Linked DNA regions of Homo sapiens: regions 1 and 2 are each linked to region 3. Evidence: promoter capture Hi-C in 16 types of primary human blood cells and fetal thymus (Javierre and others, 2016). All regions are on one chromosome and are shown on one strand. The core of a region is centred on a gene start or on the middle of the fragment in contact, and the rest is flanking DNA. Distances in the headings are between cores, read along the strand shown.

Region 1 (2,948 bases), core at 4-2,503, 670 kb after region 3:
ACAACCAGCAAAATGTAAGTTTTTTTTTTTTTTTTTTTTTTTTTTTTTTTTTTTGAGGATCTAAGCAATGAAAGTTTTCTTGAAAGTAATGGCAAAAACTGCAATTACTTTTACACCAACCTAATATTTTACTCCATGCTAAGGTGTATGGTCTTCATCCTATAGGGAGTGAGATGCAAAAGAACAATTTTGAGCACAGGAGTCTCATAAGTGATAGTTAAGAAACTAGGTGTCAATGGCGAGGAGAGAAATGAGAGCAGAGCAGGAGATTAGCTAAGAAATAATTTCCGGTATCCACGTGACAGAGGTTGGATGTATAGACTTAGGTGGTGGTATTCTGACCGAAGTCAAGGGATATTTAAAGAGTGACTGTCAAGATGTAGAAATTTGCTGATTGTGAGGAGGGAGGGGGAAAAGTAACCAGGCTCACAACCAGGGTGAAGAGGTGGGAGGCGGGGCTGCTGCCATTCAGAATGGAAAACCTAGAGGAAGAGTAGGTTGGAGAAGGGTAGAAGGGGATGTTGAGTTCAGTTTGGGGAATGTTGAATTAAAATAGCTTTTAGGATGCCCAAGTGAAGAAGCCCATGAGAGCTGACACTTCTATCTAATTCTGAGACTCCTTACTTTTATGCTGAATTCATTTCAGTTATGCAGGTTTACTGATGACATTTTCTGATTACTCAATAGGATATAAGAATACATATTTAATATATATCATGAGGATACAAGGACTTTAGAAGTCGTTGGTAGATATCATCGGTGTGTCTATTTTAATAACCTGTTTTCAATGTTTAATGGGAAGAAAAAGCATGAGATGGATTTCATGATCCATATACTCAAAGAACTAAAATATTCCAAAGATTCCTAATCTCCCTTTAATTTATATCGCAAAGGAAAATCATAGAGTAATAAATAATAAATGTTTAAATAGTTATTTATAAAATGTTTTATCTGCTTTTTATTATCCAAAATGACAGTGTCTATGAAGAATTATTTTGGGTAAAGAAATATGTATTTCTTCAAAATTGCTTTAGATAAGATAGTATTAGCAATCTTCATTATGAGAATATAAAAATACCCCAAATAATCAGAACTTACATCATAGTAAAACACAATCTACAGTCCCATTGCTAATTAGTCATTTTCTTTTTTTAAAAAGAGGCTTTTACTTATAGAATGTTGTATTTATCTCAAGAGAGCAGGTTTGTGCTGAGCCACAGAAGTTCCTTCTAGAGTTATGTCAAGTAGTACTGTATTTTTAAATGATTGTGGAAAATGTATTTTCCTAGCATTTTAGGAGCTCCCTGTTCAAGTTGGGGTCTCTCTGTTCCCATTAACTTTGATTTGATAGAGACCATACAAATGGAACAGACTTGAACATGATTGCAATTTCTCTTGGAAAGGTTCACTGAAGTTAAAACTCACTTTTTCTTGTGTCTCTAATTATCAGAAGCCCAGAAGACTAAATCCTTCACATTCATGTAAGTTTTCCTTTTGGACTCAAGAAGGGAAAGGGACCACTACAGATTCATCCATGATAATGAAGGGAACATCTTGTTTTCCCCATATCTCTTTCTTTGGTTGGATTTATTAGCTTGATTGGAGCCAGTATTTAGTGACTTTTGACAGATTGAAAATGTGGATTCTGTTTGTCTATGAGGAGGAACATAAAGCTGTCATGAAATTGACATGATACCCTGACACAATGTGCTTACATATTCATATATGCCAGGAGCTGTGTTTAAATGCAACTTTCTCATTATTGTTGAAAACTGAACAAATCCTTTCAACAATTATGTCAAGCTGATATACTATTTGTATTTTACAAATGAGAAAATTAAGATTCAAGGACATTAACTAACTTAGGTCAATACTAAGTCAAGTTTGTTTTTATTTAAACTATACGTTCTCTCCTTTAAATATCCTGCATGTGTTAAACCTAGGCATACACACCATAGTTTATACGTGGCCGTGCAAATCAGAAAGAGCCCTAGATTACAAGTTAAATGTAAGGAGTTCTTGTCCTGGTTTCAGTACTGATCACTTAATTCCTCTACAATTTTGCATCCATAAAATAAAAACAATGGCATCTGTATCTGTTTCTTCTGCTGTTGATATGAGGAGCACATGAAATAATGCTAGAGACAGAGTTGGTGCTATGGAAAAAAGATTGAAAGAGTCAAAAGACAAGAATCGACATTCTATCCCAACCACTCTCTTATCAATTCTGCAACTTTGAGCAAGACACTTTACAGTCTAAAGCTCAGTTTCCTCATCTATTAAATGGGAATATTCACCCATAGCCTGCCTATCTTACATGATAAACACTATGTAAATGAAACATGTAATTGTTAGTAAAATTTTAAAAGGTATTTATACACAGAGTTTGCAAGGTATTAGTCCTCTGGGCAGAATTTGTACTGGAGAGCGGACCATAAGTAAAAAAAATATATATGTTCAATATATGTGTTAGTTTTCTACTGTGTACACAACTCATTACCACAAATTAGTGATTAAGCAATAGAAATTTATCATCTTACAGTGTCAGTAGGTCAGGAGTCCAACACAGGTCTCACTGGGCCAAAATCAAGGCAGCAGTGAGCATCAGTGGGACTGTGTTGCTCAATGATGTCTAGGGGGAAAGCTGTTTCTTTGTCTTTTCCAACTTCTAGAAAGTACCCATATTTCTTGACTCATGTCCCTTTCCTTCATCTTCAAAGCTAGCACTGTTGCATCTCTCTGACCTTTCTTCAGTTATTCAATCTCTGTCTGAACACAGCTGGGAAAGACTCTTCAACTTAAATGATTTTTATGATTAGATTGGGACTGTATACATAATCTGGGGTACTTTCCCCATATCAAGGTCTATAAACTTAATCACATCTGCAAGTCCCCTTTGCCATCTGAGATAGCATATTCACAACTTCTGGGAATTAGATGTGGACATT
Region 2 (3,208 bases), core at 2-2,501, 690 kb after region 3:
TGCTGAGTTGCAAAATCTGTGTGCCCAAGAGAAACCGTATCTTTGCAACCTTGCAAATATAGTCTGAATCTTAGTTTTGAGGAAATTTTAATTGTAAATGATTGAGGGAAATGCTTATCTGTGACTGGCTTGACTTGGTGAGCACATCTATTTCCAAAATAAAATTAACTTCAGGGTTTCAAAAAATCTCTCTCTCTCTCTCTACCTGTCTCTTTCTCTCTGTCTCTTTGTGTGTGTTTATGTTTTAAAGATCAAGGCCTTTATAGGAGGCAAATGAGAAAAGCTAAGCCAATCTTAGAAAGAAAGAAATATCTATAATAGGATGTACAACATACAAAATAAATGCAATTTGATGCATTTTTTTCCAGAAGGGCAGGACAAGAGACAAATAACTGCCCCCCAGGGACTCACTCAGCCATGACCTATGCTTGAACACATAGATTTCACCTCGAACACTAGCCGTTGCACATTTAGTTAATACTAGATGCTATATTCTTTATCTTCTTCTGCCAGGACACCATCTTGTCTAGGAATAATATTATTCCCAATTTATAGATGAGAAGACCTGGACTTACTTAGAGAGATAACTAACAGGTTCAAAGTTTACAATTCTATGGTGGAAGAGCTAGGATTTTATCTAGGTCATTGTAACTTAACCCATATATTTTTTTTTCTCTCTCTCTCTCCCTTTCTTTTTGTCCTAGGGTGAAGAAGAGTGCTCACCAGATTCCCTTCTGGTCTGGAAAAAGAAATCCCTTCTTTTGTGGATGTCATCTCTACCATCTCTCGGTGAAAAATATTTCAAGAGAATCCTAAGATGGAGAGAGCATTGGAAGTCATCCGGCCCAATTCCCTTGTGCAATTCAAAGCTTCTTTGTAAGGTAGGGCACCATTTACTTTTATAAGGCCAACTTTGTGGAGTTTACTACTTTATAAAGCAACCTATCAAATATTTACAGCTACAATTGTGAAGAAATACTTGATAAAACTCTTTGACCAGTTTTGCCTAGTAAAACCTTAAAATTACTTTTTAGTTATCTCATTTATTAAATTGTTCCTTTGTTCGTTCACTCAAAAATATTAATTAAGCCAGGCTTGGTCTTATTTAGCTTTGAAATTACAGTGCTGGATGGTTGTGAATGCATACTTTATTCTACAAGCCCCGTTGCTTCTAGTTCATATGGAATTTGCAGGTAACTAAAACTCTTTGTCTTTTTTCCCCAAGAACTGTTGCTTAGTCAGATCTGTTCTATTTAACCTGCAGTTAAACGTTTCCCTTAAACTGAAGCATTGAATTGTTCAGTTTTGACCCTTCTGCCAGTTTTTTGAATGCTGATTAATACCTGAGAAGGTACTCTAGTTTTCTGGTGTCTGCAAGATTGGTACACACGCTGTCTGTGTCTTCATTTATATGTTCATTAAACATACTGGATAGAAGGGGGTCAAGTTCAGAAAGCTGAGGTTCTGTAGTACAGATCTCTCCAACGTTTTGACACCTAATATATTACTTAATATTTTGCTGAGTGGATTTATTCAAAGAAATGAATCCAACAACCTACATGCCTTAATTTTGCCTAAAACTATTCATGAGAAGTGGTTAAAGCCTTGCTAAATTCCTATGAAAGAAGCTTGACCTTCTGGTGTAATTGTCTCAAGCCTGCCTTGCTTGGCCAAGGACCCAATCTTTAGGCATAATCCCAGAAGACAGGGTCAAGTTCAGAGGCTTAAAGTCACAATATGAGGAGAGATACAAGCAACTCTCATAAAAGTAGAAATGACGTCCATCTTGTATGACTTTACTTTTGGTTAATCTTTACTGCCTGTAATTATCTACCATCTCATGTTTGGGATAGCCACAGCATATTTTAAGTATAATCTTCTAGAATTGTTCTTGGAATAAATTACTTTCCTGAGGGCAAGTTGTGCCATTATTTTTCTTCTCCCTCTGTGCAGCTCCATGATCTTCAATTGTCACTTAGGTTAACGCAGTCACTCATAAAATGTCAGGCTCCTAGAGGCTAATTCCTCTACGTCAGAAACTTGGGACATGTTTTGAAATACTCACTGCTTCCTAATATCTTAGTTAAATAATCAATTTAGAACTTACTCTTTTTCAGTTTCAGTAAGTATGATTTGCATTTATTTATGGGAGTCAAGCAATACTGTTTAATCTCTATCTTAATACTGTTTAATCAAGCAATACTGTTTAATCTCTATCTATAAAAGTAAGATGAACTCTTTCTTTTATTTTTTAGAAAAATGCCCCCAGAAGTTTGTTTGCATCATGAAGATCAGATTTTGAGGATCCAGTCTGGCTCTTCCCTGTACAAAACATTCCTCACAAACAGAATATGGACAATTGTTAAATGTCAAAGGTAAAGTTATTGTGGGAACTCCTTCAAAAAGTTCAAGTGAGAGCCCATTCTATGAATGACCATTTACATCTAATTTTTTTCTGTGCTATGTTACTTATTCTGAAGTGGTTGATCCAATTCCTAAAAGGGAATATTTCATTACCTTTTATTTCCTATAGCATCCATTCTGACCCCTTTTCGGTTTAATTATTCCCTGATTCCAGTCTTCATTCACTCATTTATTTGAGGAATATTTATTGACCAACAACTATGCCAGGTCCCATTCTATGTGTAGGGACTATAAAGTTGAACAAGACAGAGGAGGTACTGGCCTCAGAATTTACATTCTAGTAGATGAGAAAGTAAAAATAAACACATGAAAACATGAATGAACCGGATATTGTAGACTGTGATAGGTGTAGTTTGGGTAAAGCACAGAGTGCAGTAGTAAAGATAAACTGCACTCAGAGTGGGGCTATTTTAGATGGAATGGAGATCTCTGAGGAAATGAAATTTGAGCTGAGACCTAAAAGGTCACCCAAGGACTCATGGGAAAACTCAGTTGTTTCTATCAAAATTTAGCTTCATGAACTCCAGGCCCTTGCAAATGATGGTTACCAGGTGAGAAATGTCTCACTGGCAACAGAGGTTGGCAGACCCAGCTCCAGTTCCATCCCAGCCAACATACCAATGTCATTAAAATAAGGCCATTCATCAAGGTGGAGACTATTACTAGAAACAAGCATTCTAAAGTGCCATTTGAGTGCCAGGCTCTCAACACTGGGCGTAGCACTGCTCCATGAGGCTTTTGAGAGCATATACTGAGGCATGACCAAAAAAATTAAGTCCCATGT
Region 3 (3,052 bases), core at 382-2,881:
AAAATCTCTTGAAGGTTGGAGCAGAGCCGCCGGTTACCTTTGAGCATCGAAATACCGCAAGTTATCCCGTTTCCTTTTCCCCTCAGGAAAGATGGGTGCAGGGTTGAGATGTTACAAGAGAATTAAAAGAGAGCCACCAGCTTGGCATAGTAGAAGAAACAAACCCAAAATGAAAACACCCGGATTTTAAGCGCGGATCCTGCGAGGCCGGTTTGCACTGGCCGAACGCCTGCGTTAACCCTTTGGGCGCCGCAGCTGGGATCCCCGGTGTTTGCGGACCCGACCGGCAGGAACAGAGATGGAGTGTCCCGCGCCCGCATGGGGAGTGAGCTCTCTTCCCCAAAGAGGGAGCGAGCCGAGAAGCACTTTTTCCTCCGGTGCGTGCGTCACGGCCCGGGACAGGCGTCGAGTCCGGTTTGGAGTGGGGGCAGAGACGCGGCGAGGAGCCGCTCAAATGTCCGCTGACTGGGGGTTCGCCTTAATCTGTCCTCGCCAGGAGCGCTCGCCCTCGCCCTCCCGCTGGCTCGCTCCTGGGCCCTGGAGGGGCATGGGCCCGGGGGCGGTTCGGGAGGGGCCCCAGGTGAAGGGCGCCCGCACTTCTCCTGCGGCAATCATCGCTCTCCTGCCTCCACACGTCGCGGCAGCGGCCCGGCCCCGCGCCGAAACAGCAGCTGTGACTGACGGAGTCACCTCCCCGCGCGCCTGGCCACCCCCTCCTCCCCCGCCGCTCCCTCCTGCACCAACACGTCATGGAAACACGGACGTCAGAGCCTCTCAGCCAATCGCAGGCTGCGGCAGGAGGGAAGGGGCGCGCTGGAGGGGGCGGGGGCAGCGGCAAGCCAAGGCGCTCAGGGGAAGGAAGAAAGGGAGGGGCGTGCGGAGGCGCAAGTCCCCACCTCCGCCCCTCACTCCGGCCACCCTTTCCCGACCGCGCGGCAAGTTCTAATCGCCAGGCGCGCGCTCGCCAGCCGAGGGCGCGCTCGCCGGGTCCTCCCCTTAAACGCCCTCCCAGTGCCGCTCAGCTCCCAGTCCCGGTCCGAGCCGCGGTTCCTCCGCGCGCGCGCGCGCGCACTCGCCCGCCCCCAGGCTCCCCGCGGATCGCGTCACGTGACCGCGCTCAGCCAAGGCGGCAGCGGCGGCGGCGCGAGCTTCGGCGGCGGTGGCGGCTGTGGCAGCGGGAGCAGCTGCGCCGCCAGCGTGGAGCGGGAGGCGTGTGGGTGTGGAGAAAAGGGAGCGCCAGACCGGAACGGGTGAGCGTTCTCCTCCCCCTGCCTACCCCGGCAATCTTGCAGGCCACCCGGTGCAGACGGGGTCCCTGCCCGGAGCTGCGCGCAGCCCCCTCGTGCTCGGCCGTCCGCTCTCCGGTGCCCGCGGGCCCCGCCCCGAGTGGGGCGGGCTGCGGCGCTCACGGAGGTGGCTGCACCCCGCCCGCGGCTGCTGTTGCGGACGGCGGCGTGAGGCCGGCTGAGCTGCCCGTGCCGAGCGAGCGCGGCGCGCCCTGTGTGCCGCTCTGCGGAGCCGAGGAGGCGGGTCCTGCGGGGACGCGGGCGGCCACTCGGTGGCTGCCGGGCTCTGGGCGGGGACGGCCGGGCGCCGCCTCCTCCTCCTTCGCTGCCGCCGCCGCCTCCTCGCAGTGCAGCGTGAGTAGGGAGCCCCGGCTGGTGGACGCCGAGCCTCTCGGCTCCTTGGCCGCCCCATCCCCGAGGTGCAGCTGCACCTCCGCGTGGCGCCCCGAGCCCTGCGAGCCGGCTGCGGACGCGCTGAGGACGGAGCCCCCATCCTCTGCGTTTCCCGCTGCCCCTTAACGCCCCGCGACCCTCCCGCAGCCTGCCTTTCCTTCCCCCTCGGAAAATGGTTCCCACTGCCGGGCGAGGTGAGTGGCGGCCGCCGCCCGCCCGCGGCCGGGGGCGGCGGGGCAGGTCACCTGCGGGGGAGGCCAGGCGGAGCACGGAGGTCGGGCGTCGCGGCGGGGATCCTGATAGCTGGGTGCGCAGCGGGTTGCGCCGGATTCGGGAGAAGCTGACGGGGGCGGTCGGGGCCCCTCGCAGGTTGCCTCTTGCCGGGAGATTGTGAAGGTGAGCGGGCTTCTCGCCGTGCACCTCAGCGCCGGGTCAGTCTGGGAGTCGCTGCTCCGGGCCCGAGGGATGGGGCTTGTTGGGGCTTCTGGTCTACACCCGCAGGTCTTCGGCTTCACGAAGCCGCCTCGGCCGCGCCACAGCCCATCCCGCCACCGGTCGCCCCCGCCACGGCGCGTGGTGACCTTGAGGGCACCGTGCCCGGCACTCCCTCTCCCCGCGCCCCGGGAGGGTCACCCCTCTAATCCTTGGCCTCGGCCCCCCAGACGCACTGCGGGAGGGGAGCGGGGGCCCCTGGTCGGCCCCTGGCCCTGGTGGTTGATTGTTGGCGTGTCAGGACGGTGATTCCTCGGGAGTTGGAGAGCCGCCTGGTCTTTCTCCTCACGCCTTCCGTCTGGCCCCCCAGGATGTTCACAGTTGTTTCCGATTCGTGTTTATTCACTTAGTTTAAGAGAAAAAAGCCTGCGCCCCCACCTCCCTTTTTGAGGAAGGAGTCTGTAGGAGGACCGCGTTCCAGTGGCAGGGGTGTGGGGTGGGGGCTGTGCTCTCTTTATCCCATCCTGCGGGAGAATCCTGTGGCTAAGCTGGTTAGCGACCCCTGGTTCTGCGCCGCGGTCACCAGCCAGGTTGGTCTCTGTGCGCATTTCATTCACCAGTTTTCTGCGGGACTCGCAGCGCTGGGAGTGCTCGCACCCTGTGCGCTGCTTGGCTCGGAGGGGAGGGCAGGGCGTCCGGGTGGGTTAAAGGGGTCTGCAGGTACTTGGAGGGCTCGACCCTCCTCGACAGGCTGATATTTACCTTTTCTTTGGGTTAGAGCGCTGCAGACAGCCACCTTTCGCTTCTGTGCCCGCTACTTTTCTTGGTTTATTAATAATCTAATGGCTTCTGTTGGTATCGATTGCTGTTCGTGATAAATTAGCTACATAGATTTTTTTCATACGTGTGTAGGTATATGCATATATCTGAACTTGTCTGCC

Evidence for each region. The method cuts DNA at HindIII sites, captures the fragments that hold promoters and counts their contacts. A CHiCAGO score of 5 or more calls a contact.
Region 1: a fragment that was not itself captured here is called in contact with the fragment with the promoter of ATP2B1 in region 3 in 1 of 17 cell types (activated CD4 T cells); the score reaches 7.4 in activated CD4 T cells.
Region 2: a contact is called between a fragment that was not itself captured here and the fragment with the promoter of ATP2B1 in region 3, in 1 of 17 cell types (fetal thymus). The highest score is 5.6, in fetal thymus.

What each region holds. Positions count from the first base shown.
Region 1 is chr12:89,035,266-89,038,213 of GRCh38, reverse strand. No RefSeq gene overlaps it. Among named protein-coding and RNA genes, the nearest start is that of LINC02458, 17 kb to the right of the region's middle. The HindIII fragment of the contact is 7,011 bases long and covers 1-2,948 here.
Region 2 is chr12:89,012,365-89,015,572 of GRCh38, reverse strand. LINC02458 (long intergenic non-protein coding RNA 2458) reads left to right here. Exons shown (of 3, transcript NR_038385.1): 2 at 705-881; 3 at 2,256-3,208. Among named protein-coding and RNA genes, the nearest start is that of LINC02458, 5.7 kb to the left of the region's middle. The HindIII fragment of the contact is 759 bases long and covers 872-1,630 here.
Region 3 is chr12:89,707,417-89,710,468 of GRCh38, reverse strand. ATP2B1 (ATPase plasma membrane Ca2+ transporting 1) reads left to right here and starts at 1,631. Exons shown (of 21, transcript NM_001366521.1): 1 at 1,631-1,873. It overlaps ATP2B1-AS1 (ATP2B1 antisense RNA 1), which reads right to left and starts at 1,514. Exons shown (of 1, transcript NR_028138.1): 1 at 1-1,514. RefSeq lists silencers at 393-942, 963-1,982, 2,133-2,362 and enhancers at 2,553-2,652, 2,663-2,752. The HindIII fragment of the contact is 7,681 bases long and covers 1-3,052 here.